Regions from separate parts of the Homo sapiens genome. Here region 2 is linked to region 1. The links are contacts of gene promoters, found by promoter capture Hi-C in human tissues and cell types (Jung and others, 2019). All regions are on one chromosome and are shown on one strand. The core of a region is centred on a gene start or on the middle of the fragment in contact, and the rest is flanking DNA. Distances in the headings are between cores, read along the strand shown. Region 1 holds the start of CLCA1 (chloride channel accessory 1). Region 2 overlaps CLCA4-AS1 (CLCA4 antisense RNA 1).

Region 1 (2,700 bases), core at 91-2,590:
CTCCACTCTGTTCCCTATCCCTATCCCCTACTGCTGCAATTCTCTAACCACACACTGTAGAGATGGTTTTCTTTCCAAACATTATCTTTCTATATTTGCCTCTGCTTAGAGCAGTGGATCTCTGGGGAAATCCCTCTGGGCCCTTGTTCTATTAATTTTCCATCTAGAGAGAGCCAATGACTATATCCACCATTTATTGAGCTCTTACTATGTACCAGGCACTATGCATGCATTTTTAAAGTTATTTTTTAAAGTTCTGAGATAAATTTAGATGAACAGAAGACATGCAAAGTATTGCACCGTATTCTTACATACTCCACCCAGCTTCCCTTTATATGCATGCATTTTAAACTTTGATCCTCACAAAATCTGATAAGGGAGATATTTATTATTATTATTCCCATTTTACAGACTAATACTGTTACTAGTACAGCACTGCCTCTGGATGTGTTACAGCCAGATTCCAGGGCGGTCTTTTATAAAGCATTTCCCTCTTAGTTTTAGCTGTTTGTTGTTGTACAAGACCTTCTTCAATGGTATAGATACCCCTGCCAGGACAGGAAGTCTTCTTCCTTTCCCTTCTGCTACATAAGAGGTAGCAAGAAATCTCTGAAAGGATCCCTTGAATTGGGACTGATAAAATGCAAGGTTTTCTCCCATCAGAAGGTCAGGGTTGTTCTTATATCAGAGATTTGCATCTGGGGCTCCTTTTAGGATCACAGGGAAGGGGGTTCCTATTAGGAGAATAAAAGGAGAGTCTGACTCGTGCCAAGGGTAAAATCAGGCAAAGGATCTGTGCATCTCACAATATCTGTCAAATGTAGCTGACTCTGCCTTACTATAGAACTAAATAATTTTCAGTGACATAATCCACAGCAGTACATATCAATTTATCATTTATCAGTTGCCAACAGTATATCACTCTGAGTTATGTGCATTGCATTCATTATCTTATCTGACACAAGAATCCTAATGGTTAACTTGTTATTATTTCCATTTTACAGATGAAGAAACTGAGACTTAGACATAAAAATACATGCCAGTGTCGTGCAGCTGGAATAGGGCACTCATGTTCTCTCTATCACAACATTATGCTATTTTTAAAAAAGTATGGATAATTACTATGAACTTACCTTTATTTGTTGAATGAGTGTTTCATCTTCTGGCACATTGGGGTCGATTGCAACGACAATGCCTTCATAGCCATTGTTGTTCAGCTGAATGAGTGAATTACTCAGGGCCCCTTCTAGAAGGTGAAGAATCAAGATGAACACAGAACTCTTAAATGGCCCCATTGCTGTACATCTCCCTGTGATTTCTCTCTTTGGAAAATGCGGGTTACGAAGGTGTCTTTCTTTACCATTATATATATACAGATATGAAAATATAGACACACGTTTCCAACTTATCGGAAGTGGTTTATCACAGGTCTTTAACCCCCTGACCTGATGTGTTTTACTATTGCTCTTGTCTTCAATAGGAGAATGATAACAATATCTTAGTCTCAAATTGCGTACTTGTAAATATTTCCATCTGCCTTCAGCTGTGCCAGATGCTGGGGTAAGGGTGGGGGAGCCCACATCCGGTTCCTTGGAAGCACTCACAGGTGACAAGCAGCTTGGCCGCTGATAGGTTTGTTTACTTCTTGGAAATGTTTACCAAGCCATGGACACCAACCCACCCAAAGCCCCCAACCCCCTCCTGCCCAGGAAAATCCAGACTGTTCTGCTTATTCAGTAAACATTTTGTAAGCCATATATTCAGTTATCCCTCATGGTGGTCTTTACCACAATGGTGGTTTTGTTTACCTTGACATAACCTCAACACCTCTTCATGCTCCCCTTAAACAAGAAAATATTCAATTATATTCCACATCCATTTGTACCAAAAGCATTAGCAAGTGATGTAGATATTATTGACTATTTTATAATGGAGAGTAAAGATAAAATGTATATCTTACTTTGCAAAGCATACTCCAAGTTCCTCATCAGATTTCTGCTTTCTCTATTGCATAGCTCCTACCAGTCAATAAAATTCCAATTAACATCATTAAATTATTTTGCTGAAACTAAATGTCCCTAGGAACATGAATTATGGGCTGTCAGTGGCTGTGTATATTCTTTCAATTTGCCAAACCTCAGGTGGAACCTCAAATTGGCCCCCCATTTTCTTGTATTGAAATACTTGAAATATCTCTTCGTTCATAAATTCATTTGGTCTTCAGATGGTGATAAGCATTAATTTCATCTTGTCCATATGAACTTTAAAGTAGTTTTTTCCAATTCTGTGAAGAAAGGCATTGGTAGCTTGATGGAGATGGCATTGAATCTGTAAATTACCTTGGGCAGTATGGCCATTTTCACGATATTGATTCTTCCTATCCATGAGCATGAAATGTTCTTCCATTTGTTTGTATCCTCTTTTATTTCCTTGAGCAGTGGTTTGTAGTTCTCCTTGAAGAGGTCCTTCACGTCCCTTGTAAGTTGGATTCCTAGGTATTTTATTCTCTTTGAAGCAATTGTGAATGGGAGTTCACTCATGATTTGGCTCTCTGTTTGTCTGTTGTTGGTGTATAAGAATGCTTGTGATTTTTGTACATTGATTTTGTATCCTGAGACTTTGCTGAAGTTGCTTATCAGCTTAAGGAGATTTTGGGCTGAGACAATGGGGTTTTCTAGATATACAATCATGTCATCTGCA
Region 2 (2,700 bases), core at 181-2,680, 150 kb before region 1:
CCTTGTCTTGTTCCAGTTCTCAGAGGGAATGATTTCAACTTTTCCCCATTCAGTACTATGTTGGCTGTGGGTTTGTCTTAGATGGCTTTTATTGCATTGAGGTATGCCCCTTGTATGCTGATTTTGCTGAGAGTTTTAATGATAAAGGAATGCTGGATTTTGTCAAATGCTTTTTCTGTGTCTATTGAGTAATCATGTGATTTTTGTTTTTAATTCTGTTTATGTGGTGTATCACATTGATTGACTTGCATATATTAAACCATCCCTGCATCCCTGGTATGAAACCCACTTGATCATGGTGGATTATCTTTTTGATATGTTGTTGGATTCAGTTAGCTAGTATTTTGTTAAGGATTTTTGCATCTATGTTCATCAGGGATATTGATCTGTAGTTTCCTCTTTTGGTTATGTTCTTTCTTGGTTTTGGTACTAGGAAGATACTGGCTTCATAGAATGCTGAAGTCTTCAACTACCAGGGTGAGTAGGAAGGACCATCAGGTGGGGGCAGAGCTAGGTGTGTCTGAGCTCAGACTCTCCTTGGGTGGCTATTGCTGTGGCTGCTGTGGGGGATGGAATTGTGGTTCCCAGGTCAATGGAATGATGTTCCTAGGAGGATTATGCCTGCCTCTGCTGTGTCATTCAGGTTGTCAGAGAAGTAGGGGAAAGCCAGCAGTCACAGGCTTCACCCAGCTCCCAAGCAACCCAGAAGGCTGGTCTCACTTCCATCATGCCCCCAGCCCCCGAAAGACACCAACTCTGTTTCCAGACAGTGGAAGAGCAGGGCTGAGAACTTGCCCCAGGTTACTAGCCTCCCACGTGTGAAAGCAAGCAGGGCTTTCATGCCTTCCCACCTGAGGAGTCTGCATACTGGATTCATGCCCTCCCCAGAGTTCTGGCCAGAAAACTTTGTGTTTGGTTGGAATTGTTACAAAGTTCAGCAGGAGATTTCCTTCTCTTTGTGGTCTTTTCCCAGTACCTCTGGCAGCCCTCTCCAAGGACCTCTGTGGACAAGACAGAAATGGCTCTCTAGGGGACCTAGAGAGCCTAAAGGGCTTCTCCTGCTGCTTCCTCTACCTCTGTATTTAGCTTGACTCTCTAAATTAACTCAGCTCCAGGTAAGGCAAGAATCTTCTCCTGTGATCCAGACCTTCAGGTTCCCTAGTGAGGGTGTGTGTTCGCAGATGGACAATCCTCCTTTCCCACTTCCACAGCTTGGGCACTCACTGTATTTGGGGTGTCTCCTTGCTCCTACAGGAGCAGTCTGCTTCCTTCAGAGGGTCTGTGGGTTCTCTCAACTTTTCTGGTTTATTCCTGCAGTAGTTTTGGAGCAAAAGTTCACAATGCAAGTCTCCACACACTGTTCTGTCTGTGTGGGAGCTGCAATCTAGTCCTGCCTCCTGTCCACCATGATCTATTAGTTTTTCCTCTTGTAGCTTACTAAGCTTTTTAAAGATAATTATTTTGAATTCTTTTTAGGCAATTCATATATCTCTATTTCTTTGGGGTCAGCCACTGGAGCTTTATTATTATTATTTTGGTGGTATATTTCCTTGATTTTTTATGTTCTTTGAAGCCTTGCCTTGTTGCCTTCTCATTTGAAGAAGGAGTAAACTTCTCAAGTCTTCGATTACTGGCATTGCGAGAGAACAATCTTCACCATTCAGCCTGGCTAGAGATCTGGAGGTGTCTCAGATCATTTCAGTTGATGTATCCCCTTACTGTTCTTATTCCCTCTTGGGGGATAGTGTCAGGATTGTATGCCTTCCCTTGATCCCATAAAACCAGGCCAGGTAGTGAGAACTTTCCATTTACTTCTCCTAGTGTAATGCCAAAGGTTCTTGCCTTAGCCATGCCAAAGAATTGGTGTGGCAGCTGCCCGCAGCGAGTGATAGAGACATGGACCGAAAGAGAGAAAAAGACATAGGCTTTATTGGGCAGAGTGAAAATACAAAGCTTCCACAGTGTGGAAGGGGTCCCAAACAGGTAGCCAGAGTTAGATTATGCAGTTGCCTTTTCAACTCTTTAAGGTGGGAAATACATGCGGAGGGAAGATGTTACCAGAGTGAGAAACAAAGGCAGTAAATTATTTTGTGACATGTCTTAGATTTTGAGGAAAACCGGAATTGCAGCTTAGGTTTTATCTACTTTATGACCTTGCAGTGGCATGGCAAAGGAGACAGGATTTTATAGGATTTTACAAAGTATGTTTACAAGGAATTGGAATTGGGAGCATAGATAAAGTCTGCTGGTCACAGAAAAATGGGCAGTCAACATTCTTTTTAGTTTTGGGGGAAGGGGAAGGAAGAGAGGGAGAGAGGACACAGGGATGCTTACAGCAAAATTTTCATTGTTTATAGCTTTCTTGGGGAAGAAAACACACGCACAAATCTGGGTGTTAGGAATATTTTAAGCATATATCTTCAATATTATTCATCCAGGACCGAAGTAAGTCCTGATGCAGGAATGAGTGAGTTTCACAGCTTTCTGAGCCCCTACTTGACCCAGGAAGCCCAGCTGGCACCTCCTCTCACTAGGGCTGTGATCTGGAGTGATCAAAGTTGTGCACCTTCTCCCCGTTTAGCAGAGTTGAGCTATCTGTTGATATCTGTGCACTGTCTTTGCAGGCTCATGTTTGCCATCTTCAGGGGAGCACATGTACTGTCTTCAGGGGAACCTGGGGTGCCATCTGTGGAGGAGTGC

What was found. Contacts are between HindIII fragments. The study calls those that stand out against the background at their distance.
Region 2: a contact is called between a fragment that was not itself captured here and the fragment with the promoter of CLCA1 in region 1, in 2 of the 25 tissues and cell types used here (ovary and pancreas).

Annotation. Positions count from the first base shown.
Region 1 is chr1:86,467,567-86,470,266 of GRCh38, reverse strand. CLCA1 (chloride channel accessory 1) reads right to left here and starts at 1,340. Exons shown (of 14, transcript NM_001285.4): 1 at 1,134-1,340. The coding sequence starts at 1,295. The HindIII fragment of the contact is 10,852 bases long and covers 1-2,700 here.
Region 2 is chr1:86,621,435-86,624,134 of GRCh38, reverse strand. All of the region lies in intron 4 of CLCA4-AS1 (CLCA4 antisense RNA 1), which reads left to right. Among named protein-coding and RNA genes, the nearest start is that of CLCA4, 76 kb to the right of the region's middle. The HindIII fragment of the contact is 3,991 bases long and covers 1-2,700 here.